2 separate regions of the Homo sapiens genome follow, and region 1 is linked to region 2. Evidence: promoter capture Hi-C in 16 types of primary human blood cells and fetal thymus (Javierre and others, 2016). All regions are on one chromosome and are shown on one strand. The core of a region is centred on a gene start or on the middle of the fragment in contact, and the rest is flanking DNA. Distances in the headings are between cores, read along the strand shown. Region 1 has its middle 3.2 kb from the start of DMTF1. Region 2 holds the start of RSBN1L (round spermatid basic protein 1 like).

Region 1 (3,087 bases), core at 156-2,655, 9.5 Mb before region 2:
GAGTTTCTTTTATAACTACCTTTTCCCAAGTCAATTGGTATTTATTTGGGGATGACAAATGTATTTTAATATTAGCTTAATGCATAATTTAAAAAAATATAATAACGTCTCTATCCCTTTAGCTTGAATAATCAATGTAAAGACTATCCATAACACAACTTGATTCCTAGAGCAATTTTCTGCAGTTATACTTCTATGTTATCCGTACCTCATTATTTAGTCAATGTGTACCTAGGGAATGGATGAGGTTTTAAATATTATCCAAGGATTTACCTATTTAGGAATTAAATGTTTTGTAGAAAAATCATTAGAAGTATTTCTATCCTAAACAATAATTATTAAAGTATTTATAGCTTAGCTATGGTATTTACTGCATTTGCTAGTTAAAATTGACTTTGTTGGACTCCAGGTGTCTATAACACTTTTGTGAACCTCATCAGTGATTGATGATGAAATTGCCTTTTATGACAGGTTGATATATTAATATAAAGTATTTCAAATACTGAGAAGCAGGTTCTGTTGTTTCATGATCATCTTTTGCTAATTCAGAAAAAAAAAAGATGTTTATAAGCTTTTGTTCAAAGTAAAAGAAAATTACAATTACTGAGTAATTTTCTTTCTACACAGGCTCTGAGTCCTGTTAATATAGCTGATGGGTATACACTGTAGGGCCTTCCAGCTGATGGAGATTGCTGTGCTAATGGAGGAATGAATAAACTGTCCCAGTTATGCCCACACACCAGGCTTTACCAGGTGGTCTCCTGTCTCAGATTCTTCCTGTAGGCTTCCCTCTGGGCCTTATGACACTCCATCTTACAATCCTTTTCCCGCCTTGCATTTTGCCTATGTGTCTCATCTCTGCAATCCTTTTAATACCTCAGCCTGGTGACAACCTCTCTATATCCACTTCACTTTTTTCTTCTTTTGTGGTAAATCTTTGTTGAGACCTATTGATAGAATATTAGCCAGAAAAGTGTTTCCTTATCAAGGGAATGGAGAGCTAAGGCGTCCAATACTCCTAGCCAATAAGGATAAAAATTTTTGTTCTGTCTTTGTAATTTTGGTGTGCAAAACAAAACAGTTCAGATACTTCACTAAAACAGGATAATATCCAGACCCAGACTCAAAGACCTGTTCCTTTATAATCTAGCATGGAAGAGAGAGGGACAATGTATTAGTTAACTAAGCAATAATTGCCATGTTTTGTAAGTTCTGAGAAAGATACAACTTGGGTGCTCTGAAAGTGAACTTTTACATAGAGAGTTCAGAGTAGGCCTTTCTGAGAAGATACTTAAGCAGAAAGGTAAGAATAAAGAAGCATAGTAGGGGGTGCAAGGTGGGAAAGCATTTGTCAAGCTAGTGCATGAAAGCATATTTGCAGAAAGCAACTGGCTTGTAAAATGTTTATAAAATGGTGAAAGCAGAGCACTGCCAGGTGATAGGCTGTCCCTTGCAAATGTTAGCTGAATTTCTCAAAAAACTTTATTGTGGTAAGAACACAACATGACATCTGCCCTCAATAAAATTTTAAGTATATAAAACATTATCATTGACTATGGGTACAATGTTGTACAGCAGATCTCTAGAGCTTATTCATCTTACTTGAAACTTTATGCCCGCTGATTACTAACTCCCCATCCCCTCTCCCCAGCCCCTGGTAAACCACCATTCCACTCTGATTCTAAAAATTCGTCTATTTTAGATACTTAACATAAGTGAAATCATGTAGTATTTGTATTTCTGTGACTGGTTTATTTCACTTAGTATAATGTCCTCAAGGTTCATCCATGTTGTTGCATATTGCAGAATTTTCTTCTTTTTTAAGACTGAATAGTATTCCTATTCCTCTGAGACTAGAGCTCAGTGCATGCCCAGACATAGCAGAAATGGGCCATCTTACCCCTTTGCCATGAGCTTTGATTTGCTAATATATGGCACAATACCTTAACTTAGCAGACATTTAAATGTTTGTTGATATTAAAGATAATTATCTTAAGCCAGAAGACTTGGAAGCTAGCCATTTCTATTCTTTGGCAAGAACAGCTGACTACTGGCGATCACACAGTATTTTTCCAGATAGTGTTGCTACTTGGACAATTCTGGACTAAAACAAACACATGTTACCTATTTTTCAAGTGGAAAGAAGTTATTTTAACACATCACATATTTGGTGTTACTCTAAACCTTATTGCCCAAGTCTTGTGCATCTAGATGCAGTATTTTAAGAATAGAAGCTTGTCATTTTAGCCAGCAGATGTCCCTATTGTTCAGCAGGAGTTTTTTTTTGTTTTTGTTTTTGTTTTTTCTTTCCCAAGTAGTAACTTCAACAGTAGATAGAAATTTTGGGGCCTTCATTGCTAATGATATGCTGTGGCAGACCAAGGACAAGCCTCAACAGTAATAAAGCTAAAGGGATAAGGATTCTGCTTTGAAATCAAAATATGAGAAAGCTCTCTAGAATTAAAAGACTTCTGGATTAATCCCCTTCCCTTCTATTCACTGTACATTTAATTCCTTTGCACAGAATATGCAGTGAAACAGGAAGAAACAAGGAACTACGATAATGTTTATAACTTTCAGGAGTTTGCACATTTGTGATACACTCGGTCATTTCATTCAGCAGCTCTTCCTGAGCACCTCCTTTGGGCTGAGCACTATTTTAGGCACAGGAAATATGATGGAGAACAAGAGAGACAACCCTGCTCTCAAGGAACATATATTCTAATGGAGGAGCTTACATTATAGTAGTATAAGTGCATCTTTGTGCCAAACTTTTTTGGGTAAAGTACTCACTAAATTACTGGCAACTGCCTGTAAAACTTGCTTATAATTAACAATGAGGGAAGAAAACAAAATATGAATCAAATTGATAGCAGTAGGAGGCAGACAAATTCCTTGGTGGATGGGACAGGTCCCAGTGAAACCTGACCTTCAAGCCAAAGACAGCCTGAAGCCTGAAAACCGGGCCGCCAGTTCCAAGTAGAATCCAGTACCCAGAGTGAGAACTTTCTTAATGCCTTTGAATGAATCAAATGGTGCTTTTTCCAGGCCCACTCATGGACCAATCAGCACGCACTTCCTCCCACC
Region 2 (3,245 bases), core at 96-2,595:
TTTTCTAATGCTCAAACATTCTGCAGCCGCTTGATCTGGCGAAAAATCGTCAAAGCTCCTGGTTTTATCATTTGCTGCAGGGAAAAAAAGAATATGGCTGAAAATTCTTTCAGAAGGGTGGTATTTCAAACAGGACCACCCAAAACACTTAAGAATACGCAGCGGAGAGTAGGGTGCAGGGAGGGTACCTTACGAAACAGCGCACTTCGGGCCCTGCACGCTACCTCATTTCCCTAATAGGGATGAAAAGCTCAGGCCTCTGGTAGCTTCCAGCTGACGCCAGTGCTCTCTCCACACCCCTTTTTTGACAGGATTATCCGGGGTTGAACGCTGTGTCACAAATACGAATTCCCGCGACCACGTCTAAGTGGTCTAACAATCAATCAAGCATCTTTTACAAAACCAAACCCTTCCCCCATCCCGTTCCCTCCATCTCTCTCCCTAGCCAAACAAACCTAGGAGAGTCCTCAAGATGGATTTTCACAAATCCTGCAGCGCACTAACTGGGAGGAAGAAACGATACAGAAAATAAGAGTGTCGGCCATCCCCCTCTCTGCAACCGAAATTACAGGCTCCATTTCCTGTCCCCTTGGGAACTGCAAAATCCTCTGCTGAAAACCGGACGCCTCCCAGCCCCTCCAGGCCGGCGCACGCGGCCGCCGCGCTCCCCCTTCCCGGGCCCCGTGGGCGCCAGGGGGCGGCGGGGACCCACGGCGCCCTCCCCTCCCCCTCCCCGCACGGCACCCACCTCGGGGCAGCGGCTTCACCTCCCCGTTCTCCTCCCGGGAGGCCCCGCCGGCCTCTCGGGCCCCACCGAGACCGTGCCTCCTCCTCTCCTTCTCCCGCTTCTCCTTAGGTCTGCGCGACTTGGCGTTAGCCGAGGCAGCGGCGGCGGCGGCGGGCAGGAGGAGATGGTGAGGCTGAGCGTGCAGCAGCGTAGGAGGGACCAGCAGTTTGCGCGGCACCGGCTGAGACAAGGAAGCGGAGGCTGAGGAGGGAACGGCCGTGCCAGCGGAGAAAGAGAAACTGCTCCGAGAAGAGGACGGGGAGGGAGCAGCAGACAGAGGGGCAAAGCTCCAAGACGCGGGGCTGCCATAGCTCTGAGGCGAAGGTGCTGCCGGCGGCTGCAGCTGCCTGCTGTTCCCGCCGCTGCCCCCTTCTCCGTTCACTCTCCGCGGTGCCTTCTTCTCCTCAGTCCGGACCTTCTTGGCGGACAGAGAACCCGGAGGGTCCCGGGAGGAGAGTTGCAGCTTGCCAAACGGTTCTTTCTCCGAGACGGTGGCGGTGGGGGCCGCGGCAGCGACACAGTGCACGGGGCTCGGCGGTTCCGCCATTTTGCGCTCCTGTTGTATTTACTCTCCTCCGCTAGCCGGCGCGGGGCAGGGGGCGGGCCCTCCGCGAGGGGTAGGGAAGGGGCGGAGCGGCCAGGCCACCAGCCGGCATTGCTCCATTGGGCAAGCCACGCTGAGGGATCCACCTAAGAGCCAATCAAAGGCACAAACATCAGACGAAGGGGCGGGATCGCCACAGGGACCCTCTTCGGAGGTCAGAGCTCGGCGGGGTGCGGCTAGTGGCGGAGCGCGCTGCGAGGGGAGGGCTTTCCACTGTCGCTGGCGTGAACTCGCGTGCCCGGTGGGTATCAGGGAAGAACCCCCGCCCCGGACCCCCAGATCTGCCATGGCCGAGGTAGCGATCGTCTCTGCGGCCACGAAGACTGTTTTAACTTGTACCACTTTCCCTTCCATTTTTCCTGGGGTGCCTCTCACCCTGCATCTGCGCGTTCAGCAAGCTGGATTTCGGGAATGCTCAGTTCAGAAGAGAAAAAATTGCCGGGAATCAAGTCCTTCTTTTTGTTAGTCGGTAGTCGATTGATGGGAAGTGTTCAAAATCATTCGATGTGGTGACAAGGTACGTTATTATTGCTAGATCATGTGCTGTAATCCATTGAAGGAGATAACTTCCAGCAAATCTAGAACTTTAGTATTACTTACAAGCTTGAAGGTGAGAGTCTCCCTTTGGAGACTTTTGAACTGTTGTGACTAGACCCTTAAGATTTTTATTTTATTTATTTATTTATTTATTGGGACGGAGTTTTGCTCTGTTGTCGAGGCTGGAGTGCCGTGGCGCGATCTCGGCTCACCGCAACCTCCGCCTCCCAGATTCAAGCGATTCTCCTGCCTCAGCCTCCCCAGTAACAGGGACTACAGGCGTCCGGCACCATGCTTGGCTAATTTTTGTGTTTATTAGAGACGGGGTTTCACCATGTTGGCCAGGCTGGACTCGAACTCCTGATCTCAGGTGAGCGGCCCACCTCCGCTTCCCAAAGTGCTGGGATTACAGGCGTGAGCCACCATGTGCGGCCTTAAGATTTGAATTTTATAATAATTATTATAGCCGGGCGCGGTGGCTCACACCTGTAATCCCAGCACTTTGGGAGACCGGGGCGGGCGGATCACGAGGTCAGAAGTTCGAGACCAGCCTGACCAACATGGTGAAACCCCGTCTCTACTAAAAATGCAAAAATTAGCTGGGCATGGAAGCGCGCACCTGTAATCCCAGCTACTGGGGAGGCTGGGGCAGGAGAATCGCTTGAACCCAGGAGGCGGAGGTTGCAGTGAGCCGAGACTGCGCCACTGCACTCCAGCTTGGGCGACAGGGCAAGACTCCGTCTCAAAAAATAATAATAATAATAATAATATTATTATTATTATAACGTAGACTTGCCAGGAAAAATTCGTTGGCGATTATTTATGGATGTTTGAAAAGCAAGAATTGTTTTTTTAGGTTTCTGTATTTTAGCGTTTAGTAAGCACACTGCGTGTTCGATGTTTTGTAAGCATGTGCTTTGATTTTTGCTTCGAAAATAAGCAATTTGGGGAGATGGGTTTTAGCTTAAAAGATAAGGAATGTGGCCGGGCGCGGTGGCTCATACCTGTAATCCCAGCACTTTGGGAGGCCAAGGCGGGCAGATCACAATGTCAGGAGTTCGAGACCAGCCTGGCCAACATAGTGAAACCCTGCCTCTACTAAAAATACATAATTAGCTGGGCGTAGTGGCATGCGCCTGTAGTCCCAGCTACTCTGGAGGCTGAGGCAGAAGAATCCCTTGAATCTGTAAGGCAGAGGTTGCAGTAAGCTGAGTTCGTGCCATTGCACTCCACCCGGGGCGACAGTGCCTATTTACTCATTTTTTTAAGAATATTTTTAAGAATTTTTTTTTTTTCGGCCAAGAGTGGTGGGTGGCT

The links. Contacts are between HindIII fragments. The CHiCAGO score rates a contact against its expected background, and 5 or more counts as called.
Region 1: a contact is called between a fragment that was not itself captured here and the fragment with the promoter of RSBN1L in region 2, in 1 of 17 cell types (fetal thymus). The highest score is 5.9, in fetal thymus.

What each region holds. Positions count from the first base shown.
Region 1 is chr7:87,147,721-87,150,807 of GRCh38, reverse strand. No RefSeq gene overlaps it. Among named protein-coding and RNA genes, the nearest start is that of DMTF1, 3.2 kb to the left of the region's middle. The HindIII fragment of the contact is 1,663 bases long and covers 574-2,236 here.
Region 2 is chr7:77,694,559-77,697,803 of GRCh38, reverse strand. RSBN1L (round spermatid basic protein 1 like) reads right to left here and starts at 1,345. Exons shown (of 8, transcript NM_198467.3): 1 at 749-1,345. The coding sequence starts at 1,334. It overlaps APTR (Alu-mediated CDKN1A/p21 transcriptional regulator), which reads left to right and starts at 1,539. Exons shown (of 2, transcript NR_134254.1): 1 at 1,539-1,908. RefSeq lists silencers at 125-224, 515-834, 1,305-1,524 and enhancers at 1,045-1,274, 459-1,354, 1,355-2,250. The HindIII fragment of the contact is 2,163 bases long and covers 1-1,996 here.